7 separate regions of the Homo sapiens genome follow, and all the other regions are linked to region 1. The links are contacts of gene promoters, found by promoter capture Hi-C in blood cells and fetal thymus (Javierre and others, 2016). All regions are on one chromosome and are shown on one strand. Each heading gives the region's core, a stretch centred on a gene start or on the middle of the fragment in contact. The rest is flanking DNA. Distances are from core to core; before and after follow the strand shown. Region 1 holds the start of SPATA46 (spermatogenesis associated 46). Region 2 overlaps ATF6 (activating transcription factor 6). Region 3 overlaps OLFML2B (olfactomedin like 2B). Region 4 has its middle 7.9 kb from the start of OLFML2B. Region 5 has its middle 21 kb from the start of NOS1AP. Region 6 overlaps NOS1AP (nitric oxide synthase 1 adaptor protein). Region 7 overlaps NOS1AP (nitric oxide synthase 1 adaptor protein).

Region 1 (3,585 bases), core at 656-3,155:
CCCAGCGGATAGCCAAACCGGCGGCCTCCCACAGTCCCTCTTTTCGCCACCCATGGCTGTGACCCTTTTTTCAGCCTCACTGCTCATCTTGATCCCTCCACGGCCCACTCAGCCAGAAACTGCTCTTGCACACCAGTTTCAGAGACAGGAGAGGGGAGGCAAGGCGAGAGCCCCAGGCCTGTGGGTGTCTACCAAAGGAAGAAGGGCCAGATAGGAGGCTGCAGGTGACAAGACCGCGCATGGGGGTCCAGCTTCCAGACACCTCTGCTTCCTTAGGGAAGCAGCCCCTTTTCATCCTTAGCCTCTCACACATTCCCGCCCAGAGTCAGAGAAGTCCTCACCTGGTGAGAGCGCTGTGTTCTGTATCCCTTGCCTGACAATGATGCTTTGGTACTGGGGTGGCAGGGCCTGAGCTGGGCTGGATGCCTCAGTGGGTACTGCTGTCTTTGCAATGTCTGGGTTATAGAAGAAACACTGGTGAGCTGAGCAAGGTTGGGATTCCACTTTCTGGGACTCCCCCAGGCATACCTAGGGGCTCAACCTCTGTACTTCAAGGCATCTCAACGCTGAAACAGAACAGTGACCTCTCAAACTCAGCCAGGCAGAGCTATTCTGGATGACATCCTGGGGAATTCTGAATGGGGCCATTTCATTCAGGCCTCAGAAAGATCCTCTGGAAAGTGGGATTTATGATGTAGCCCAGATGACACCTCTCCGCCTGGCCTGCCCCTCACCTAACCCTCCTGCATCTCATCACGCGGATGGCTTCACTCCGCATTGCCAGTCTCCTGAGCATCCTGGGACCCAGAGTCACAGGCTGCAGAGCAATGTTCCATGCCCGCTTTGAGGATTGTCCAGTTGAAACATCTCATACCCACAGTCAGGGTTCCCGTGGGCCATCACTGCACGGCACACCCTGGAGTGCTAACACTTGGACAAAAAGCTGACCTGCCTCAAATCCCAGAATAGCAGCTGTGTTCAGTTTGGGGGACAAATTTATAAATGTCATATATGTAGACAAATGGATGCTTAGGAGGCCTACTCCACTGAGCAGTACTTCTCCATTTTACTGTGCATAGAGATCCCCTAGGGATCTTGTTAATAACACAGATGCTGATTCAGTGGATCTGGGGTGGGAACCTGAGATTCTGCATTTCTAACAAGCTCCCAGACGATGCAGACGTTGCAAGTCTAAGGACCGTATTTTGAACAGGGAGTCCTCAGGGTGTCCAACTTTATTCCATGATGTGCTCATCAGTTTACGCTGCTGCTTAGGCTTCTCTGATTTGGCTAACTCCAAATCCTCTCCAAACTTGTCAAAACAGAGCTAAAACTAGTTTCTACTCTATGTAGACATACTGCCACCTTGAGATTTCATGCACAATCTAGGGGGAAAAACTTGATGATAAATGGAGACTGAGGCAGGAGAATCACTTGAACCCAGGAGGCAGAGGTTGCAGTGAGCCGAGATCACATCATTGCACTCCAGCCTGAGCGACAGGAGTGAAACTCTGTCTCAAAAAAAAAAAAAAAGTTTTCCCCTTTCTTCCCTTACCAAAAATCAATACACAGCAGTAACTACTTACCACAAATGCAGCATTTTGAAAAATTATTTTCTCCCCATGCGTAATTTGACTTTCTCACTAAATCATGGTCCTGTAACATGATCTGGTAGGGTACTCAATTAAAAGCTTCAAAAAAAACCACATCTTTGTGGCCCTAGTGGCACCAAAGTTTACCTGGCAGGCTGGTGGCACGAGAGAACATAATGTCGGGAAAAGCACTCAGGGCGGAGGAAGAGATTGGAGGTCCAGAGATGCTGAGGAGTGAGAAGTTCTCCATATTCTGACCACTGCGGGGGTACAGAGATCACACGCCTGCTCTGGAGAGGCTGGCTGGTTTGTCCAGAGGATAAACATTCTGAGCACAGTTGATGTCACAAGGCACATGATTCCACTACCAACTAGGTTACCCTTTGGAAGATGAATGGAGTCTACTGAAAGCAAGATTAAAATGTGTAAAGATTGTATTTGACTTGCCATTGCCCAGTGGCAGGCCCTGATTGACAATACCCAGAGAGAAGAATGTAGTAGAGATACTGTAGTGATGCTGTCTATTTGTCCCCTTTTATCTTTGTTATCATCAGTTTTCTGTGTTGACACTGTCTACCCCCAGCCCTCCAGCCCTGGAAACCTCTGTCCTGTCTGAATAATCTCCTTCCTTTTCTTCTCCTTTATCAGCCTAATCTCTGTCAGCAAATATTTTTATTGTTTTGTTTTAGTTTGTTTTTTGAGGTGTATATATTTTTCACATTTTCTTTGGAAATTCAAATTTGTAAAAGTTGCAGAAATTAGGCTGGGTGCAGTGGCTCAGGCCTATAATCCCAGCACTTTGGGAGGCCAAGGCGGGTGGATCATTTGAGGTCAGGAGTTCAAGACCAGCTAGACAAACATGGTGAAACCCCATCTCTATTCAAAATATAAAATTTAGCCATGCGTGGTGGTGGGTGCCTGTAATCCCAGCTACTTGGGAGGCTGAAGCAGGAGAGTCGCTTGAACCTGGGAGACAGAGGCTGCAGTGAGCTGAGATAGCGCCACTGCACTGCAGCCTGGGTGACAGAGCGAGACTCCATCTTAAAAGCTGCAAAAAATAAAATCAATACAAAGAACACCCTTATGCCCTGTATCCAGATTTTCCTATTAACATTTTACCCCATTTGCTGTATCCGTCCCCTTCCTCCTGCCCCCTGCCCCATGTGTATGTGTATATACTTAATTTTTTCTGTGAACTATTTGAAGGTAAGTTATAAACACTATGTCCTTTTATACCTAAGTACTTCAATGTGTATTTCCTAAGAATAGGGGCCAAATATTGTTTTCAGTGGTTGGTGCTCTTTTTAGCAAGTGACTAAAGCACAAATGGGTGGCTTACTCAATACTATTTTGCTCATTGCTTAAGTCAGTTTGATGGGGAGACTCTGGGACTCCAGAGAGGCAAGGTTGCCTCTTCGTTTCGCTTGTCCTATAACAACCTTGTGCACTAACGAGGTGTGGAATAAGGTGAAAGATGATTGTGACACTTGGAAGATAAGCTGAAGACACCCCTTTCTAGATTATCACAACATGTCAACTAGATACAGAGCAGGGCTGCAGATCTAGATGGCAGGTATGTTTATGCTGCATGGGGAGCTATGGCCGCTCTGGAAATAGTGATGGGCTTGTTTTGCAGTGCTGTCGAGCATGTGTGAGTGAGGTGTGAGTTAGCTTCTGCACGTGAGAGCCCAGAGTTGTCTTCCTGTGTGTATTTATTCACGGTACTGAAACATTCGAAGGACAATGGGAGAACATGATTCCCCTCGTGTTCCTCCCAGATAGCCTGGTTTGGAACATTAGCATGTATTGGAAAGTAAGTTGAAGCCACATACTTTGGCAGTTTGGGGGGTATCAGCAATTTCATTTGGTCCATTATGGTGTAGAGAAAGCTCATGAGTCTGGGCATCAGCTTATGTGACTTCTAACCCTGCTCCGCCATGAGCTACCTGTGTGATATTGGGCAAATCTCTCTGCTACTTGGTTTACCCATGTT
Region 2 (3,585 bases), core at 304-2,803, 410 kb before region 1:
GGGAGCTTTGCCTTCTTTTGTCTCTCACTAGCCCTTCTACTCTTTGTCATTGCCTGTTCTTGAGTGGATCTTTGAAATGAGGGGACAGGATTCTCCTAAGGGTAGAGTTTCAGGAAATGAGTGAAAGGCAATTGACAAATGCAAAGAAGTAGTCACTTTTTAAATTGCTGGCAAAGCTATAATTAATCCCTAGGCACAATTGTAGTTTTTATTTTAATGTTTGTATGCACAAGGCCCTTTAGGAAATGAGAAGTTGCCATGCCAGATTAATTTTTTTTTTTTTTTTTGGTGGGATTGCCTTTTGGGGGTTGCAGCCAGAAATTGTGGGTAATGTGTGTATTTTTTTATTTATTAAATTTTAAACAGGATTGTGCAAGCTTATGAGACAATTAGATAAACTCATGGAGGAGGCAGGTCCTCCTGTTATTAGATGATTTTGTGCTCTTGGGGCTGACAATAATACACTCTTGGGAAGTGATGGTAGAGACTGATGGGAATAGTCTTTCTGCCTGGTTGCAAGTCCCAAATTTTTAAGGGTTAATGGAAGTAAGTGGATGTTTCCTCATGTTAACTACTGAATCAGATGTTAGGAGCTTGTCCCTTTGGGGTTGACTTATGCCCAGCAGTACAGGGACACAGCTTCATTAGAGTGTTAGTGTAAACTAACTCCAAAGTTAGGAGTTAATGTGAAAGGATCATCCTTGAAACAAATCTGCTGTTTGCCATGCTTGTAGTACAGAAACTTCACATGGAGTTTTGGGTGGGATTTGTGTTTTCACAAGTAAAAAATCCCTCACGATTATAAAACTCAGAGCATCATCTAATTTTTTTTTTTAATGACTACAAGTTCCAGCACAAAACTGGCATTTCTTTGCCATTTCTTGCCAGTAAGAAGTTGACACGGAGGTATTTGAAAGCAATGTTATGTGAGTCATTCTTAAGTGTTCCAAGTAAGTTTAGAAACAGAAAAGGAACTTGGGATTCAAATTGATTTTTCAAATCATTTTTAAAGAGACATCATCCTGACTAAATCTTAGCCTGAACCTTCCTCCCCTGTGTGTATTCCCCGGTAGTCACCGCAGCGAGATGCTGGTGAGACTGCCGTGGTGGCATTTAGCATCGTTAAAACTGGAAAACTCTCAAGCTCTTTGCCACTTTCCTACTATTTTTTGATTCTTGCCATTTTACCAAGCTTAGGTTGTGAAACTTGACAGAAATGTATTACAGGAAAAACTTATAATTGTATTTGACTTTCTAACACATTGCAAAGTTTCAAAGTGACTTTCACTTTCAACAACATATTAGAAGTAACCACTTTTGCTTTCACAGCCTGAAGAGTTAGAGCCTGATCTGATGCCCCCTTTCACTCTGAAGTCATGGGAAATTTTCCAGCCATGAAAGCCCTCTTTCCACTGCATACTGATGGGCTGACTCAGCTTCCTTCAGCCGACTGAGATCTTTTCATACTATTGGCTATTTCATACCAATTAACCTCTTAAATAAGATTGTGAATTGCCAAAATTGATAGACACTTATTACCACCTGTGGACTCCATATTCCTTACCACAAATGTTATTTTCATCAGTCCTGAGTCATTTTAACTTACAGAAATTAGGATTGTTGCTGCTAATATGAATACCAATTATAACTTTTAGAAACAAGAATAAAGCCTAAAAGAGAATGAAATATAAGAAATGTTCGTTCCCACCCCTAATAACATTTGGAAGTGAATATTCCCATTTTCTTCCACCCACAGGGATTGGGATTGATTTTTAATTTCCTAGGAAACAATACTAGACTACCCAAAAAGATGTTGCCAGAATCCAAAAGGAACTATGCTCGTAAAAGAAATGCAGTTTTCTCCTACCTAAAAAAAAGAAAGTAAAGTGTGTTCTGTTCTTATCTTTTTAATGACTAAGCTTTAAACAGTTTATTTTGGGTAAGACTAGAACTTTCGGCCATTTGTTCTAATATGTGTGTTATTAGATGCAATAGAATTTATGAAAAGAAGAATGACAAAGGTATCTGATTAGAAAATTTGATCTTACGCATGAATCCATGTCATGGCCAGCCACTGTCACATAGTGGGTGCCATTCTCAACATATTGGTTTGCTAACTTTAAGCATTAGGGATTTAGCACACTAAAATACTTTTAATTATATTAGGTTTGGTAACTAAGGAGTAAATAAATCATAATTTATCATTTGCCAAGGCCAACAAACAACACTATTGTGCTGTTTGCTCTCAATGAAGTTGAATAAACCAGGAGGCTTGGCATATCCCCTTTATGTTAATCCCAGCTAGAGATTAGTAGGTTGACTTTCACAGCAATTGTATATTGATCCATTTTAACTCATCCTTGCCATAATTTCCAGGCCAGTCACCAGGACAGAGGAGATGATGGGGAAACAGAGCTTTAGATGAAAACTACTATGCACTACTAGCCTTAGAGGCACTGGTTTCCTGTTACCACTTTGGCAAGTATGGATGGTCTAAGTCCAGTAGGGCTTCATCCATGGAGCCATTAGAACTGAGGGGGGAGTGTTAGAGATGCCATTTCACCAGGATCTTTTTGCTCAGGTTGTACCCATGCCAATTGAAGAACGTGTTAAAGATGAGGAGGAGAGATGTACCATTCTCTCCCTTAATAATGATGTTGGTTTGCAAAACCTAAAGAAATAATAACAACAGACTATTTCATACTTTCAAGCAAGTCTTTATACTACCTGTTATTTCTCTAAAATTCAAATAAAGAATTTTTAAACTTACCTTGTTTATTCTGTATGTAGAAAGAGAGAAAAAAGCCCCCAAATGAATCTTCAGTGTTGGGGGGTTAGTAATGGGAAAGGAAGCCTGAAAAGGCTTTGTGGCTTGTGTTACTGTTCAGATGAAACTGTTGAACTATTTTCCACTCTTCTCCCAAGCCTAATTAAGTAAAAATTTCCTTTATTTAAGTGTCCAGATATTTAAACTACAATCTTATCAAGGAAAAAAAAATCTAAAAACCCATATTTTATCTATGTCTTCAGGAAAGTGGGTTACTCGGTCACGCATCTTGTCCTCACCAAAGGCCTCTTCCCAGCTTGCAATGGCAAATGCCACCACACCTGAAGCTAGTCACTGCAGACTGACAGCAAGGGATCCATCCAGGAGTAATTAATGCAGGCATTTACTGAGCACCCAATGATTACCTCTGACACTGGTTTATTAACTATATTATCTTATTTCAATCGTCTCTACATCCTATTTTGTAAGATGGTTATTAATAAGTAGTGGAGCTGGCTGGGTGCAGTGGCTCACGCCTGTAATCCTAGCACTCTGGGAGGCCAAGGCAGGTGGATCACCTGAGCTCAGGAGTTTGAGACCAGCCTAAGCAAAATGGTGAAACCCTGTCTCTACAAAAAATACAAAAATTAGCCAGGCATGGTGGCAGGTGCCTGTAATCCCAGCTACAAGCTACATGGGGAGCTGAAGTGGGAGGATCACTTGAACCCAGGAGGCGGAGGTTGCAATGAGCCAAGATCACATCACTGCACTCCTGCCTGGGTGACAGAGTGAGACCCTGTCTCAAAAATAAAAATTAA
Region 3 (3,585 bases), core at 630-3,129, 360 kb before region 1:
AAAGATGACCATGGGGCAGAATTCTGGCAGTTCTCTGTGGTCTCGTTTTTACAAATAGAACCAGGGACAGGGGTGTGGTCGGGGGAGGGTGCTGGCTCTGGAGATCAGGTGTAAACCCACACCACAGTCATGGCCTACTTATATAACCACATAGGGCAAGGGATGAAACCTCTCTAGGCCCCAGGCAGGAAAAGAAGGAATGATGACACCTACCTCACCCAAGCTTGGCACAGAGATGGATAAGGGGCTGCATGTGGTACAGTGCTGGGCAAGGAAATCAGGCTTGAGGCATGTGGGTGAAGCTGGAGTGGGAGGGACCCTTGGGGTCTCCATAGCAGACATGCAGGTGGAAAAGGAAAGGGAAGCCAGGGTTTGGTATGGCTGGCATGGGGAGGAAGGTAAGAACCCAAGGCTGGTGTGCTGTAGAGAGACACACTAGACACCTGTGGGAGTAGACAAAGCCAGACTGCAGGTGAGGCAAACCCTGGCCCCAAGTCACACAGCAGGTGCACACAGCCATATCTAAGGAGGCTGCCTGGGAGGCTGCCTGGTAGGTCCTGTGGGCATCAGGATTCCCTGGCAGATAGCTGGATGCGCACAGGGCTAAGATACAGATGGCAAGCCCAAGGGCAGATGGGACATAGTTTCTCATGGGAGTGACCTGAGCAAGTGTGAGGGTAACTGGACCCAAGGGGGGAGGGCTCGTAGTTCCCATCAGCTCACCGTGCTCAACCTTTGCACCCTCCAGGAGACAGCTACGACCAGATGGCCTGGGACAGCAACCCCAGCTGACAGCTGTCTCCTAGCCCCTGGTAAGAGAGCTGGGGAAGAGAACAGCTGGAAACAGCCGGTGCTCCTGATGGCAGGACAGGCAGGCCATGGCCTAATCCCTCCGACCACAGCTGATGGGAGAGACAGGCAGGCCTGGGTTCAGGGAGCCACCAGCTGCCCCATTGAACATTCATCCAACCAAACAGCTGTGGAGCATCTGTCCCACATCAGGTGCTGGACCAGGGCCTGGGAAACAAAGATGACTTGACCCAGCTTGCCCTTAAGAAGTCCAGGGCCTGGCAGGAAAGTCAAACAAGGCAACAGCAAGAAGACCCAGGCCTCTGGTGATGAATTTCTATATTAGGGTAATCTTACCCCTTAAAATAGAGCCACTCGAGCCATGCACACTTGCACATCCTGGCAGCTCTAAACTGTTCCTAGGCCGACGGATGGAGGGCTGACACTCGCACTGTAAGTCTCTTCAGCCAAGAAGAAAACTTTATATCCCACAATTGCAAATTAGATTTGAAGTATATACAACCCTGGGAGAGGTAATATATTGGCTTTAACTCATATTAAGATGTAAATTGAATTAAATAGTGTTAGGCTGAAATATATTTTAGAAACACTAACTTCGACCCTCTGCCTTTTCACGTATAAGGACACTGAAGTCAGGCCGGGTAAGCAGTGCCCCTCTCCAAGCCTTCACTTGAGGAAGAAGAGTGAAATGACTTACAGCAAACCCCTCGGAAAGAGCAGATTTGATCAGGAGAGTGAGCCCTGGGGGTGTCTCGACAGGGGTGGAGGGTGGAAGGAAAGGTAGGGCTTGGAAAGAGACAGCTCCCCCAACTCACAGCCAAGTCTGCACAGATGAAAATTACGTTTTCCTATTAGCTGGTGAAACGATATATCCCCCAGGGTCAGGAATGCTTCTTTGATCATGCCTTTCAGTCCAGAAACACAAAAGCCACCAAAGCTTTAGGTGTGGGGGAGAAGCCCTCAGCAATGCCTGTGCCAGTACATTCTGGGGAGCGGACCAGTTCTGGGTCTGGTAAATCCATCGTGGACTTAAATCTTCCTCGGAGGCAACATTATCAGGAGAAAAGTCTTCAGCTGGGACACAAGGTTCCCTCGTGCCATCTATGCTCATGGGTGTGGTTTGCAAATTCCAGCAGGTAGATTCGTGAAAAAGGAAAGAGATACACACACCAGAAGGGACAAAGCAGAAACCACGCTATGGAAAGCTTGCAGGCATGCATCTATTTTAAGAGCATGGGCTATGCACCCACACATATACAAAGGCACATGTGTACATAAGCATTTCAAGCACTTATAAACACTTACAGGTATCCTGCAGCAAGGTGGGGGTGGGACATTTCTTCATAAAATTTGCAAATTTTACAGAAATGACTGAAACCAACTAAAGCCTTGATGCTAGAAGATTATTATAATGATCTGTCCCTCTGTTTGTCTTTTTCTCCACTTTAGTAATAAATCTGCCCCTGGAAGCAGTATGTGCTGCTAGGGGTTGAACACCATGCCTCTAGTCCTGCTGCCTTCAGAATCCACCTTTAGGCCTGGCAGCCTACAAGTCTATGGGTCTCTGAGTGCACTCAGAGCCCGGATGAAGTCTTTTCTTGAGCTGAGTGAGTGCCACTGCCAGCTCTGTATGCAATGAACAGGGCTTGCCTTTGCCTTTGGAAGTTACAGGTTTTCTTTCTAGACTTTTAACTCCTATCTCTTCAGATACTTATGTTCTGTGCCCACCCACCCCTCAACTCCAACATGTACCTACACTTCCTGCATGCCCTTCCCCTTCCCAGCCACTCACAGGAAGGAGAGGTCAGCTGGGGTCTATGTTGGACTGCTGACCACCTTGAGTGTTTCTTATTCCTGGAGCAGTTTTAAAACTGGTTTATGAGGTTTCAGACCTCCCCCAGTGAACTGGAAAGATATTTTTGGAGTTAAGTTTCTAGAACACAGTGAAATGACCCTACTAAGTTATAGCCTCCAAATTGACAAAAACTAGAAAGTCTGACAATACCAAGTGTTGGTGAGGATGTGTGCAGAACTTTTATACCCTGCTGGAGGCAATGTAAACTTATACTACCACTTTGGAAAACAGTTTGGCAATATCTCCTGAAGTTGAAGATAAGCATAACTAATGCTTATCTTCTAGTTCCACTTATCTAATGTACCATAGAGAAATGCAGGCACACATGCACCAGGGTACATGCACAGGGATGTTCATGTATAGGAATGTCCATAGGGCTATTCTGATTTACGCATTCAGAAACTGGAAACAATCCACATACCCATCATCAGGAGAACAGATAAATTGTAGTATATTCATACAATAGAATACTACACAGCAATAAAAATGAATGAACCACAAGACACAAAAACAACATAGGTAAATATTAAAAATATAAAGTTGAGTGAAAAAAGCCCAACACACACACACACACACACACACACACACACACACACACACACACACTTCTGTAGGATTCTATGTATTTAACATTCAAAAAAGGCAAAACTATTACATTTAGGGATGCGTCCTTAAACGATGAAACTATAAAGAAAAACAAGGAAAATGATTAACATAAAAGTAAGGATAAAGGTTCCCCTGAGGGAAGGGTATGAGTAGGAGAGAGCATATGGGGGCCTTTTGGGGTATTAAAATTGGTCTGTTTCTTGAGCTGGTTGGTGGTTACACAGGCATTTTGTTCATGGTAATTTGTTAAACTATATTCATTGTTTATACACTTTTCTATGCATGTGTCGTTTTTCAGTATTTAAAACAAAAGC
Region 4 (3,585 bases), core at 435-2,934, 350 kb before region 1:
TAATATTTCAAGGATCTCACAGTCTCCTGAGAGAGACACATAAATGGACAAGTGCCAGACACTGTGGAGGCCCACTGACAGGATGGCCAAGGTAATGGCCACCCAATCCAACTGTCTATGGGAGGAGAGTGGTGTCAGGGTGCTCTGGGGGACCTTCCAGGAGGAGCAGGAGTTTGCCAGGTAAAGGACAATGGTGCCTGAGGGACAGAAGTAGGGAAGTGGGGTCAGGGAAAGAAGGTGTGGAGGAGGAGAGAAGGGCATTCCAGGCCAAGGGGACCACAAGGACTGGGATTTCAAGATATGAAGGTTGTGATGTAGGCAGAGGCTGGAGTGTAAAATACAAGACGAAGAGTGAGAGGAAATGAAGTTAGTGAAAGAGTGAGAGGCCAGGTTGTGGAGGCCTTTACGTGCCATCCCAGAGAGCTAGGAGTATGTCTCACAGGCACTGAGGGGCCATTGACAGATTGGGGGCAAGAGAGTGCCATTGTCAGACTTGCAGATTAGATGAATGACTCAGGTGGTGAAGAGTGGACAGAAGAGAGAAAGGCAGAGCAATGACTGCAATTCCCTGCCTGCAGACCACTTGGCCTCCTGGAATGGCTCTGCCTGAGCCAGAGTCCTGTGCTGAGTGGGTCATTGCTCTGACTCAAAGGGAAGCTCCCTTGCCCTCTATAATTGGTGGTGACTAAAGGAGGGATAGGTAGGCAGAGATTCTGCCTTTCCAAGGAATTTTCCAGGGCTGCTACATGGCACAACTCTAGGGGATACCATTCATATCATAGTCCCTGTGAATGGGGCCCCTGAGAATCATGCAAGGCATGTCTGGCAACCACTGAACACTGTCCTGGGACAGGTCAGGAACATTGCATACAGCCCATTGCTTTCTACACACCATGATCTCTCTCTCTCTCCCTCTCTCCTGGTTCTAAGAGACCGCCGTGCTCAGGGCAGCTCCTACACATGATGTAGTGTCCGTGTGGTGTGCTTTTTCAGGGCACTCACACACCTCCCCTGCATTCTCACAGAAGCCTGATAGCCCTTTACTAGGGCTAATGAGTTCTGCCTTCAGTGATGAATCTCCACATGCAGATACTCCTGGAAGAGGTGATTCATTGCCTTAAATCTATACCAGAGAGTAAATAACAGGCCCCTTCCTGAGAGCTGGTTTTGCTAGAAAAGTAGCAGTGGAAGACACTGAGAAGTCAAAAGGCCTTGTTTATGGGACAACCCCAGAGAGGCAGAAGTAGAGAAAAGGAAGACCTGGCCCATGCATTACCACCTCTTAGACTTAGAATTGATGTCTAAGGGCTCATATTTATTCCTGATCAGCAGGGATGAATAGAAGCTGGTTGAGAAAAGGCTGGGAGAGGAGTGTGCCAAGTAGAAGTCTAGAGACTAGAAAACGGTGATGAGTTACTGGGAAATGCAAGCTCAGGTGGAACACAGGGGTCACAGCAGAGGGAGAGAGGGGATGCAGCGAGCAGTTAGAGTGGAGGGCCAGATCACACGAGGCTTGTGTATGTGCTGTGGAGTTTGGAGTTCAAGCCAAAGGCTATGAGAATTCTGGTAAGCAAGGGAGTGAACTCTAGTAGGTGGCCCTGGCAGTGGCACAGAGAATGAATGGGAGAGTCAGGCTGAAGTAGGGAGAGCTATTTGGAGGCTGTTGTAGAAATCCAGGCACGGATGGGGAGGCTTTGATAAAGGCAGTAGCATGGAGGTGAAGAGAAAGGGGTGGGTATGAGATATACCAAAAAGGTGGAATTAGTGGGACTTGGTGACTTTCTGGATATGGAGGTGAGAGAGGGGAAGGATGTTAGTTTAGATTCCTGCTTGTAAGTTACAAGCAACTTTATATAGATTAAAGGAAAAAAGGTGTTGGGGGTAAAGGAGACTTTATTATAAGGATGTAGGAGTGTCTCACAAAACCCAAGGGCTCTAATGTCACTGGGGTCATCAGAGGCTCATTTGAACCTAGGACATCTCTGGTCCACACAGTAGACTGAAGGTGCCCGGTCAGAGTTACTTGAATATTGAGTGTGGTTAGTTTTCCTTCTCAGGCCCAATTCCAAATGCCCAGGGAAGGCCTTGCTCTAAAATGGGTCAGATGCCCAATCCTGAACTAATCAACTAAGGCGGGGGGCAGGGGGACAGGTCACTTGGTAGAAACAAAGTGGAAAGAGGGGCAGTTTCTAGGGAGGAGCTGCTAGACCAGACAAATCAATGGATGTCCACTCTCTCCTATTCCATTGCTGGCTGGCTCTCTGCCTCCTTCTACTTCTGAAGATGTACTTATTTAGCATAAATTAATCATCTTATAGAAAAGTATCTCCCCGTAAGAGACAACCCAACTTAGTATCCAGGAATGGCAGAAGCAACTCCTCTGTGTGCCTCTCTCTCCAGGTGATATTTTTTTCCTCCTCCTGCTTGGCTTGTTCTAATCCAGATGTGATGTCTCACCATCCTACAGCCAACAGACTAAATGGTAAATTTAACCTGGTGTGTATACATGCAGACCTCAGCTTGCTATAGATATTTCACTTGGTAGATTAATCACTGAAAATATTTAGTCAATACACTTGCTCATCCATACATTCATACATTTGAATATGAAATTAAATTACATTCATGCACCCCTCCATTCTTTGGGGTACATGAATGTAACAATTTTAGCCTTGTCAGGCAGCCTAGAGCCATGACAGAGTCTGGGATGTAGGGTTAGACAGACTGGCTGTGGAATTCTGGCTCCACCATAACTGCTGTTGACCTTGGGCAAGTCACTTCATCTCTGTGAGCCTCAGTTTCTTAATACTAAGGTGGGGATCATAAAAATATTCACCTCTGCTTACTGGTGCTTACTGCTAACCACATGTTCCTTTCTTTATCCCTTTAGAAATGAAACCCCAACCCTCAATTGGAAGGCTGAAAATAACAAAGAATGTAAAGATCACAGAAGGCTTAACAAAGGGTAAATCTTAGATTTAGCATCGAGGGGAAACTTGGACGCTAATATGAAGGTGAAGTCTTACTTGGGAGCAAGAGAGATGAGTCTAGTCTCAGCTTTATGGGGGCTTCAAAACCACAGACCCAGGTTCAAATCTCAATGCTGCAACTCATATGGTGGGGAATCTTGGGCAAGTTGTTTTTTTCTAAGCCGTAGTATTCTAACAGTACTAGGTTGTTGTGGAGATAAGAGATGTATGTAAAAATGTCCAACCCGTTGCTTGCCCCATTCACAAATACATGTTGAATGTTGAATGAATTTTAAAATAGTAATCGTTTATTAGATAGAGATAATTATAATCATGCCCATTTCAGACTCACCAGGTGAACTGATTAGGACCTCTGTCTGCACCTCTGTTTTCGTATTTGAAAAAGGAAACTTTATTATTTTTGACTCTCTGTTCCTTCCATCTAGTGATTGTGATTTAAGTAGCTGAGGTTCTCCCCACCCCACCCTTTTTGGGGGTTTGCTTTGTTGCAGGGACTGAACTTTAAGCAGATAACTTGCTGAAGCTTGGGTGATTCCTGAGGTGTTCTCAGAGATGGGTCTGTGGAGCCAACTGCCAGCCCCTTCCTTGCTTTTGT
Region 5 (3,585 bases), core at 275-2,774, 330 kb before region 1:
AATTCTTTTAATAGTTTAAGGACAAAACTTTTCTTCTGCAATGATAATTTATGCTGCAACATCATTGAGTCTTCTCTTGGCATAAATGCATTATTCATATTTTTTTAAGGAATTGAAACTCCTGAATATAGTGTTGATGCCTTAAGTGCAGATTATTTTGAATTCAGCTGCGTGTGCTATTGAATGCCTTGGCATGATTCAGTTCTGCCCCCATTTTTCTCTGTCTGAACTACTAAGAAGACTCTATTCCCTGTGACTTCATTGAACTCCACTGGGCTTATATGAAGATGCAAATGCAGACACAAACCTTGAAATATGTGGCAATATTTGATTATATGTTGGTGTTCCAGATGATCCCCAAATATCCTTTTTATTGCTCTTCCTTTTAAAAATGAAACAGAAGCTCAGAAATGTGAACTAATGTTTCGAGGTGGCATAACTACTAAACAGCAGAACCATAATTTGAATTTAGGTATTTTGGCTGCAGTTACAGTGCTTTTCCCATGAGTGTTTCCCAAGGTGATATGCATACTACTGGTGATATATCCGATAATCTTAGGTGATAAGTGGGCAAACATTTTTAACAGTTTTCTAGTTAAATGTTGTTAGAAAATATAATTAATTATACATCAAAACTGCTTCCTCAGATTTTTGCATAGGACAGGGCTAACATAGACAGTGCCACAAAAATCCATCCTAGGACACATAAAACACAAGGTACACTCAGGCAAGTGTATGGATGTTTTCAAATTCCAGTAACTGAACCTTCCATTATATAAATTATTGATGTTAGAGATGATATACATCAGTTACATGGCTTCTCATATAATGAATGCTTGCATCCTTTTCAGTAAAATATTCATCTTTCTTCCATAAGCTCTCAGTTACTTGCAAGATCGGTAAGACTGTTTCTCATATATAATCTATTGCAGCAATAGGAAAAATTACTCACTGATGTAAATACAGGATGTCTTTCCCACCAGAGAATCATATGAATATTTAACAAATCTGCTAAAATTGTCAATCACATTAAGAGCAGCCCAATATATTTTTGACTTTTTCCCCTCAAGATAGGTGGTGACCACAGATGACATTTGTTTTATAGGTGAGTTTAGTGGCCTTTGCAAAAGTCCTCTCTTATCTATTCAAGTTGCAAGAACTTCATGGCTTCCAGAAAGAACTCATCACTCTGTAAAATTATATGCATGATTAAAATTGACTTTGCAAGCTAGCTTATTCCATAGATATATTTGCTCATCTGAAAAACTTGTTTTTCCTCTCAAGGCAAGCTTATGAAAATATATCATGTACAAAACCAAATGCACACAATTCTCACGAAAATGAAATAAGGAATACATGCCATGATTGTGTGGTCTTAGTTTCTTTGTGTTATCTAAATTATCTGGCTCTTTGGATTTCTGAGGTTACCAATAACATCATTTCCTCCTGTATATTCTGTGTGTATATTTACTTTGTGTCCTGTGACTTGTTATATCCATTTATTGGTTCATTTTTTATAGATTCTTCAGGACTTTCTATGTAGATGATCACATTGTCTGAGGATTAAGACAGTTTTATTTCTTTCTTTCCAATCTTGTCTCATTGCATTGCTAAGACATCCAGCATGGTGTTGCATAGAATTGAGAGAAGACTTGTTCCCCATCTTAGAGGGGAATGTATTTAGACTCATCATGAGAATAATATGAGCTGAAGTTTTTCATAGATTTCCTTTTTTATATCATCTATTTTAATTCTCCCATTAAGCTTAGTGTTTGGGTAGAATTGTCTCCATTTACAGATGAGAATACCGAGGCTCAAAGATGTTATATAAATTTCCCACAATCATACAGCTAGCAAGAGGCAATCAAGACCCTGATGCCAGTGCTGTTTCAACTGTATCAGTGATTCCATTTGTCAAGTGTCTGGTGCTTTATTCAATTTAAATCATTCACTTTGGAAACAATTATTGAGCTCATACCATGTGCTATACTTTAAAGGTGCAAAACACTGAACAAAACCTATTTATTTGTATTAATAAGTTTTTAAAACTGAGATGATACCCAAGTAATCTTTTAAGAAAGGTTTGCAAGAGGTTTTTGCATAGATTACTTAGAAAGACAAGAGGAAATCACCTTACTGATGAAAGTAATATATCATCAAGATGACATATCCCATTAAGCATCAAAGGGATGCTAAGTTTTAGTCCTTAAAGCATGAATTTGTGTCTCCAGAGATAATCTGTGACAACTGTGTATTTGATAGCTCTATTTATCTGTATTGAAGAACACACAAATTCCACTTTAAATACAGCTTGTTCTCATAGAACAGCACCATTGGTTTGGTGATTATCATCATCTTCTTTAGCGTTATATCAGAGAATGTCTTTTCTTTCTGATTCTATTGGTAGCTAATTTATTCATATTTTAAGTGTTTTAGATAAGGAGATTTTAATTTTAGGTTTAGTTTCTTTTTATCTTTGTCCATATGTATGTTCTAATTCATTCATTCTAAATTGAGAGATAATTTGCAATGTGAAAATCAGCTCATCTTTCTTTTTCAGGTTATGAATAAATATCCAGAGGGAGATAAAGATTGGAGAAGGGAATCATAGAATGTTAGGACTGAAAGAGACCATGATGGTCACCATATTATTTTACAGCTGAGGAAATTGAGGCTGAGGAAACTTAAGCCACATGTCTAATATTATACAGCTGCTGGCCAAGTGGCAAGGCTGAAACTTAAACTCAGTTCTTACGTCTCCCAGGCCTGTAGTTTTCCTTCTTTCCTTTCTTTCTTTTTCTTTCTTTCTTTCTTTCTTTCTTTCTTTCTTTCTTTCTTTCTTTCTTTCCTTCCTTCCTTCCTCTCTCTCTTTCCCTCCCTTCCCTTCCTTCCTTCCTTCCTTCCTTCCTTCCTTCCTTCCTTCCTTCCTTCCTTCCTTCCTTCCTTCCTTTCTTTCTTTCTTTCTTTCTTTCTTTCTTTCTTTCTTTCTTTCTTTCTTTCTTTCTTCTTTTTTTTTTGACAGGGTTTCACTCTGTTGCCCAGGCTGGAGTACAGTGGCACGATCACTGCTAACTGCAGCCTCGACCTCCCTGGGCTCAGATGATCCTCCTGCCTCAGCCTCCCAAGTAGCTGAGATTACAGGCACATGCCACCATGCCTGGCTAATTTTTGTATTTTTTGTAGAGATGGGATTTTGCCGTGTTACCCAGGCTAGTCTCGAACTCCTGGGCCCAGTAATCTGCTAGCTTCGACCTCCCAAAGTGCTGAGATTACAAGCATGAGCCACCACACCTGGCCCTGTAGTTTCTATTTCCGCAGGCTGACAAACATTAGGTAAGTGGTTGGAATAGTTTACGTTCAGTATCCCTTTCAACTCAGAGAGTCTTTTGTTATTTTATCCCATTATGGGTACAATTATATTATTTCTACATCAGCTAATGTGTGAACTATTTCATGCCATTCTTCCTAAATAAACATTTCAAATTAAAAATAGTTTTAAAAATCTGCTATAGGTCAGTTTAATTAGAATCAATACCACTTTTGAAGAAAATACTCCTACTTCATATATTTGCTGTAAACAGAACA
Region 6 (3,585 bases), core at 326-2,825, 290 kb before region 1:
TGAGGAGGGGGACAGATCTCCATCAGAAGGGTATTTGGGAATGTTTAATGGCAGCAGGCCAAGACGGTTTGAGGTGTGCCCCCAAACAATGGTGATGATTTCCTCTTTGAGGCCAGATTACTCAGTCTGTAGGTCAAAGGCCTCCTCATACTACTAAGCATTTGGCTGGACACTGCTAGCTGTGTGTCCAGACTGTGTGTGTGTGTCCAGGGCTGAGCAGCACCTCCTTCCCCTTCCTGTGGTAACGTCTTTATGAATTATGAATTTATGAATACATACAATCTGGAGACCGATACCTCTTTTGGTATCAGGGATTTTCTCTCCCTCTCGCCATTCTCCTTCCCCTTCATCTCTCTTCCACTCCTTGTGTATTTTGTGTCTCAGACCTGGAATCAATCATTTCTCCAGGAAGACCTGGTATCTTTTAATGCAAAATTGTATTTCAAGACCATTATCTTGGCACCAGGGATGCTAATTTTTATTGAGTTGGCCATTGTCTGTAGGTCTTTTTTGGTGAACAGAGCTGGGAAACTACACATAAGGAAAGAGCAAGGATGAATGTGATAGATGTAAACATACTTGTGTGTTCATACTGATATTTCCAATATCTTAACTACTTCTGTATTTCATCTGATCTTTTGTCCACACTGAGAATTCTGGTTTTCAAATACATAGGGAATAACAGAATCCAATATTCCATAATTACTCACTTGCTTTATCCTACACTACACAATTAGGAATCTCAGAATAGTAGTACAAACACCAGCACCAATTATGATTACTGAAAACAGTCCAAAACCTTTTAAAAAATATGTCATCTGTATCCTTCACCATCTTTTAAAATGGTTATACTGTATTATTGTGATACTCTGAGTAATGGTCCCTCAAAAAGTATTCATGTCTTAATCTCTGGAATCTGTGAACGTTACTTTACATGACAAAGACTTTGTATATGTGATTAAGTTTAGGATCTTGAGATGGTGAGATTATCCTGGATTATCTGGGTGGGCTTTAAATATAGTCACAGTTGTCCTTACAAGAGGGAGGGAGGGGGAGATTACACACAGAAGAGGAAAAGACAGTGTAACCACAGAGGCAGATATTGGAGTGATGTGGCCACAGCCAAGGAAGGCTGGCAGCCTCCAGCAGCTGGAAGAGGCAAGGAATAGTTTCTCCTCTAGAGCCTCTGGAGGCCGTGCAGCCTGCCAACACCTTGATTTAGGCCCAGTGAAACTGACTTCGGACTTCTGTTCACCAGAGTTATAAAAAATAAATTTCTGTTGTCTTAAGCCTGTAGCTTTGTCATAGTTTGTTATAGCAGCCCTAGTTAACTAATACAATCATATAGTCATTACACATTATAATATTTCCTTTTTAACCCTCATTTAGTTTTTAGTTCTTCAATAATTACATATTTAATACTTACTACCAAAACTTACATTCTTGTTTCTAGTCACTTTGATTATCCAAAGTTCTTCTCTAGTATCCTTAGGAAAAGCTTATGGAAACAATATTCCCTGATTTTTTTTTTCTGAATGTTGATAACATTTTATCTATGCTCTTTGTATGCGAAAGGTCAAAACTGCTGAATATTAAATCTGTGGTTGACATTTTTTAAAAAATCTTAAGTGTTATTCCATCTACTTCTGGCATAAAGCTTGTTGTAAATCTGATCTAATTTTTCTTTTCCTTATAATTTGTATACAGTTAAAATTAGATGCTGCCTAAATTATCTTTTGTAAAAAAAAAAAAAGTCTGAGAATTTTACTAGAGTATATGTTGATATTATTCTGAGTCAGTATTCTCAGGTAAACAATATGTTCTTTCAATATCAGGTTTCAAATAGTTTTTTTCCAGGAAAGTTTTCACAGACTACTGTTTTTAGAATTATATTCCTTGCTTTGGTTTTGTTCTTCCGGAACCACTCTTATCCATATGTTGGTTCTTGTTTGCCTATCTTCGATGTTTGTCACTTTCAAATCCCTTTGATCTCTTTCCTATTATTTCTTTTTAATTAAAAAATTTCCCTAAGTTTCAGGCAGTTTTTAGGTTTATTTTTTCTTATATTTCTTCTAGTTTAGTTTTTATCTCTAAAATAGTTTTCTTTTTTTACTTTGCTTTCTTGAGTTTTGTCACTTTATTTCTGAATTTTTCTAATTCTAATTTATGTTGTTCTTTCATGCCTTGCATAATTTAAAGTATTTTTAGCTTATTTAAAAATATGTCTTTTTGGCATGCTTTCACTATCACATATTTCTAAGGATGTTATTTTGTTCCTTATTCTCTCTTTTTTTATAGAAATGTTTATGGATTTGACCTTGTTACTTTTCTGTTGTTAATTTTTATGTAAACTTAGTTTTCCTGAATTTTAAAAAGGAGGGTTGGTTTGGTAGTATTTCTAACTGCACAGAGAAATGGAGATTTAAAAATCTCTTGTTTTCATGGAGATTTAAAAAATGTGGTAGTTCTGTTTCCATCTCTCTCTTTTACCTGAGCCTTCTCTTTTCTTTGTCTCTGTTGCCTGTCCTGCTTCATTTTGATTCTGTTCCCAGCAGTTTCTCTTGGTGTGGAGTCCTGTCCTGGGCAATCAGTTTTGAGAGTTCCTAGTGGCTTGAGTGCTCCAGCCCTTCGAACCTCCTGTGGGTCCCCTGTTGTTCCAGGTTCAGCGGCAGTTCTCCAGTTTACCCTATTGGCTCTTTTGGGTTCAGGTTCATCATATGCCCCATTGCTTCCCTTTGATTGTTCCCACATAGACATCAATATCATACTGGCTATTGGTGATTTGTCTCCGATAACTTGTCACCAAATTTTGTTGAGTGTCATCCATGAGTTTTTAAATTTGCTATTTAGTTGCTCTGTTTATTTTTTGTAGAGACTGTGGAAGACTCAATAAATATATTGCCACCATTTTCCCAGAATTGGGATATTGCTTTTAATTTTCACTACAGTGTGGCAAGTTGCTGACTGAGATTTTAAGTTATTTTTCCCCCATGGAGCAGCAAAACATATAAAGATTTGAGAACATAGGATAAGGAATGAATAAATCCTGCTTATGTGTAATTACATTTGAGCAACATGTTGATGAACAGCTAAGGGAAGACAGAGATCACAAGTTTCCTCCTCCCACTCCTCAAAGAGAGAGGGCACTTTACACAGCCCAGGAGCATGTGGAGTGCTGTGCAGTCTTGCTGTGTTCTGGCTGTTTGCTCTAATTGATCTGTCAACCACTACGTGGGCATTAAGTAATTGGGATGTGACTTCACTGGGGCAAGGTGGGGTGGTCTGCAGAATATACAGGAAGAATCAAATATAGAATCACGGAGTGCTGGAGTTGGAAGGGACCTCAGAGATCACCTCTGAGATTAGGTCCTAAATCAGCTCTGTTATTTTGCAGATGAGGGGGACTGAAGTACAAAGAGATGAAAGTGACTAGTTCAAGGCTGTGGATCCAACAAAGGATGGGATTGGCATTGCAGCTTGTCCTGAACTCTCCCAGGCCACATTCCAGTCTCTCAAACCCCAGCTTCCCTGTTGAGTAATGAGTAAACAGACTATTGTAAAACGAAGAGGACTTTTATAGAGTAA
Region 7 (3,585 bases), core at 741-3,240, 260 kb before region 1:
TCTGAATTCACAAATTGACATTTTGATTTGTTGACTTTGATGCAGATTCAGGATGGGTGGGTGTCTTAGAAGTTACTGTGCACGTTATGAAGAGAACTTCACTTGCCTGCCCCCACTCCCAACAGCTGCATCCTTTTAACAAGTACAGTTTCCTTAGAGACGTTTCTCTGCAATATTCTTTGATGTTGCTACATAGATCTGTAGCTTTTTGGGGGGGCTGGAGGGTACTCATATATTTCATCTGTTTTGGAACAGGAGACAGCCTTTGTTCCATTGTCCGAATCAAAATCAAATTCATTTCATTTCTTAAATTTCTTGAGCTCTCATGAAGCTTCTTGCAGATATGTATACCCTAGCACTAGGGAGTAAGAATGGAGTTAAAAGTGCCCCTGTGGACAGCATTAATCAATTTACTAGGACGTAATCTAATAATCAGAAAATGCTGGCTTCAGTTTCCTGGGGACAGGAGCTCATTTTATGCATTTTGTTCTGTTTGCATAGGCTGTCTCTCCAGATATTGCAGGTTTCCATACATTGGTCCTGTCTTTATCAGATTAATGTCAGGTGGTAGCAGCTAGATTCATCTGTGGATTTACTTGCTGCTGCTTAATGGATTGCGGCCTGTGTCTGACACTTTAGTCTGACTGCTTGGTAAGTCTTTTTTTAAACTGGTGAATTCTTGCCAGACAATTTGCCATTAGTGTTTCTTTCTCTAGACAGGGATGCATGAATTCAGGTACCCTAGCTATCATCCTCTTTGTTTAAAAGGAAGGGAGGGAGACATAGGGAAGTCAAGAGACACATTATGAGCCCTGGCAGACATAACTCAGGACTCCCAGGACTTCCTGCTACCCCTCAGCTGGGACTGCTGACCTCACTCCTCCTTGTCTTTCAGACATGCCACTGAGCACATTGGTGAACAAATGTATCATTGTGCTCCCTGAAATAAAAAGGGGGGCTGGTGCTCTGAAAGCACCTTGTCAGGCTGTAGCTAAAGTGCCTTTTAGTTCTCCTTTCTGCTAAGATCCCAACTGGAACGAGTTGGGGCTGTACCCTTCCAGCTCTTTCAGGAAGGCACGGTACAGGAAAAGGTGCCTAGCCCAGGTTGTGTGTGTGTTGTATGCACACATATGTGTTGGGACACATGGGGCTTCCACTGTCCCCTGGGAGCCTAACGGTCCTTCATGGCTTCTGGTCATCAGATGATGGACAGGTCCACATATCTGTCTTTTGCTTCCACTTTCTTACCACACATCAGTCAGTGAACATTTATCATATCTTCTAGGCACCAGGCGTATCTCATTGTTCTCCTTCACAACGTTGTTATGAGAAGATACAGATAAAAAGATTATGAAATGTTTTATTAATAACAATTGCTTTTTAAAAACTAATTTCAACTTTTTTATAGATTAACAAACACATACAGGTTTGTTCCATGGGTATATTGCATGACATTGAGGCTTGGGGTCCCAATGAATTCCGTCACCCAAGCGGTAAACACAGTACCCAACAGATGGTTCTTCAGCCCACGTCTCCCTTCCACCCTCCCGCATCTAGTGGTCCCCAGTGTCTGTCGTTCCCATATGCACGTTCATGTGTATTCAGTGTTTAGCTCCCACTTATAAGCGAGAACATGTAGTATTTGGTTTTTCCATTCTTGCTTTAGTTTGCTTAGGACAATGGCCTCCAGCTACATCCACGTTGCTGCAAACGACATGATTTCATTCTTTTTTGTGGCTTCATAGTACCACATTTTCTTTTTCCTGTCCACTGGTGATGGGCACCTAAGTTGATTCCACGTGTTTGCTAATGTGAATAGCACTGCAGTGAACATACAGGCAGGCATTTGTGTCTTTGTGATAGAATCAAGTGCTTTGTCTTGCTGATATTACAGTCAACTTTTCATTAAAAAACCCCAAACCAAAAACACTCCAGCTGCTGTTTTTCATGTATAAATAATCAGTATTTGTAAATCCTTTATGCATAACCATTATGTTTTGAATATATATATTAGTCAATTGATGTTTCTCAATTTGCTCCATGTTTACTGAATACCCAGTATGCACCCAGGGCTGTGCAAGAGATTGAGGTAGAGGTAGGGGTGTGTCAGACATCTCTTTTGGACTCTGTGAGTTCTTTTCACTTTTGGACTCCATGAAAACCTCATCTCGGAGCCTTGGCCTCTCTCCTCAGAAAACTCATCAACAGGGAGTGGAATTTAGCATATTATTTCAGGGAGCCCATAGACCTATGAGAAAGTTCATGGGGATTTCTAGGTCCCTATGATAAGAGCCACTTGTCTTGATGATAAGGCAAATCATGTGAGAGCTGGATGGTAATTTTGCCATCATCTGCTGCATTTTGGGAGGTAGAGCTACTACTTTTGAGGCCCTCATAGAATGTTTTTCTTTTTAAGAATGATCTAGAAACTGAAATAGTTTCCTGTCATAATAACCGGAAGAGAGGCTGCTTGGGGTCCATGGATGGGAACTCTTCCAGTAGCCCATGAGGAATAGCAGCAAGAGCTCTGGAGAAAGTCTCTCCAGGCATTCTAGAGAGTCTTTACTTTCCTCCAGTTTGGAAATGGGGTCTGGCAGCTCAGTGTCTGACACTGGCAATATGGAACCTGATTAACCTAGAAGGATTTACTACACAGACATATTCTGCAAGCATTGAGCTCGTGTGTCTGCTTTTCCCTAAGAACTGTATATGGTGTCCTTGCTTTTAGTTTCTGTTTAGATAAAGCAGAAATCTCTTTTGGGTTTACTCCGCATTCTATAAAAGCCAAAAAACAAAACAAAACAACAACAAATGGTAAAATATAAGCAAAGGACTCGTACTGCTGCTATTCTTTTTTTATTTAAAAATTGCCAACAGAAAGAGGGTTCAGTCAGTTTAAGAGAAGTATTAGGAACCTACTTGCATGGCTCTTTATTCTTCCCTTACTAAAAATTTATCGTAGTCTCCCTAATTCTTTATGCGGCTCTAGCTTTCTCTTGGATCCCAGAGTACTTAACAGCCAGGGCGAGGGAATCTCTCTCTTGTCTTTGTGAGGTATTGAAGGGTAGCAAAAGGTATTCTTTTCAGATGAGGGGATTTACAGAGGCACTTGGAATTGCGTAGAATCGTCCTCTGAAGACTTGAAGAGTGAAACATATTAGGGATCCTTGGCTTGTTGTAAAGGAAACGGATGGCATGGGGGAGGCAGCAGAGATGGTAACAGTTGGTATATGGCCAAAGTGACAAGTACGAACCTATCCTGTGAATAATAGGATGTCTTTGGTGCTGCTGGTGGGAGTGTAAATTGGTACAACCTCTTAGGAAAGCAACTTGATTTTATATATATGTATATGCATATGTATATGGTATATACATATGTATATGATATATACACATGTATATGTATATGATATATACACATGTATGTGTATATATATGTATATATCAAAATATACCCTTTAGCTGAATAATTCTTTAAGCTGTGAATCTATTCTAAAGAAATAGCCTAAATATGGTAAAATATTTTTTGCATTATATCTTTACATTCATCAATTTTATTTATAATAATGAAAAATGGAAAGACAG

Evidence for each region. The method cuts DNA at HindIII sites, captures the fragments that hold promoters and counts their contacts. A CHiCAGO score of 5 or more calls a contact.
Region 2: a fragment that was not itself captured here is called in contact with the fragment with the promoter of SPATA46 in region 1 in 5 of 17 cell types (M2 macrophages, erythroblasts, M1 macrophages and 2 more); the score reaches 7.3 in M2 macrophages.
Region 3: a fragment that was not itself captured here is called in contact with the fragment with the promoter of SPATA46 in region 1 in 1 of 17 cell types (M0 macrophages); the score reaches 5.6 in M0 macrophages.
Region 4: a fragment that was not itself captured here is called in contact with the fragment with the promoter of SPATA46 in region 1 in 4 of 17 cell types (M0 macrophages, M1 macrophages, erythroblasts and 1 more); the score reaches 8.0 in M0 macrophages.
Region 5: a contact is called between a fragment that was not itself captured here and the fragment with the promoter of SPATA46 in region 1, in 7 of 17 cell types (M1 macrophages, M0 macrophages, megakaryocytes and 4 more). The highest score is 26.5, in M1 macrophages.
Region 6: a fragment that was not itself captured here is called in contact with the fragment with the promoter of SPATA46 in region 1 in 5 of 17 cell types (M2 macrophages, M1 macrophages, M0 macrophages and 2 more); the score reaches 7.3 in M2 macrophages.
Region 7: a fragment that was not itself captured here is called in contact with the fragment with the promoter of SPATA46 in region 1 in 7 of 17 cell types (M1 macrophages, M2 macrophages, M0 macrophages and 4 more); the score reaches 9.9 in M1 macrophages.

What each region holds. Positions count from the first base shown.
Region 1 is chr1:162,374,949-162,378,533 of GRCh38, forward strand. It overlaps SPATA46 (spermatogenesis associated 46), which reads right to left and starts at 1,906. Exons shown (of 3, transcript NM_182581.4): 1 at 1,740-1,906; 2 at 342-455. The coding sequence starts at 1,842. The HindIII fragment of the contact is 3,530 bases long and covers 1,690-3,585 here.
Region 2 is chr1:161,961,302-161,964,886 of GRCh38, forward strand. It overlaps ATF6 (activating transcription factor 6), which reads left to right. Exons shown (of 16, transcript NM_007348.4): 16 at 1-2,769. Among named protein-coding and RNA genes, the nearest start is that of OLFML2B, 61 kb to the right of the region's middle. The HindIII fragment of the contact is 727 bases long and covers 1,191-1,917 here.
Region 3 is chr1:162,010,669-162,014,253 of GRCh38, forward strand. All of the region lies in intron 3 of OLFML2B (olfactomedin like 2B), which reads right to left. Among named protein-coding and RNA genes, the nearest start is that of OLFML2B, 11 kb to the right of the region's middle. The HindIII fragment of the contact is 268 bases long and covers 1,746-2,013 here.
Region 4 is chr1:162,029,962-162,033,546 of GRCh38, forward strand. No RefSeq gene overlaps it. Among named protein-coding and RNA genes, the nearest start is that of OLFML2B, 7.9 kb to the left of the region's middle. The HindIII fragment of the contact is 3,654 bases long and covers 1-3,511 here.
Region 5 is chr1:162,046,983-162,050,567 of GRCh38, forward strand. No RefSeq gene overlaps it. Among named protein-coding and RNA genes, the nearest start is that of NOS1AP, 21 kb to the right of the region's middle. The HindIII fragment of the contact is 475 bases long and covers 1,288-1,762 here.
Region 6 is chr1:162,088,630-162,092,214 of GRCh38, forward strand. All of the region lies in intron 1 of NOS1AP (nitric oxide synthase 1 adaptor protein), which reads left to right. Among named protein-coding and RNA genes, the nearest start is that of NOS1AP, 21 kb to the left of the region's middle. RefSeq lists enhancers at 2,764-3,359, 3,360-3,585. The HindIII fragment of the contact is 159 bases long and covers 1,497-1,655 here.
Region 7 is chr1:162,116,714-162,120,298 of GRCh38, forward strand. All of the region lies in intron 1 of NOS1AP (nitric oxide synthase 1 adaptor protein), which reads left to right. The region is part of intron 3 of LOC105371475 (a long non-coding RNA gene); the gene reads right to left. Among named protein-coding and RNA genes, the nearest start is that of MIR4654, 39 kb to the right of the region's middle. The HindIII fragment of the contact is 3,323 bases long and covers 330-3,585 here.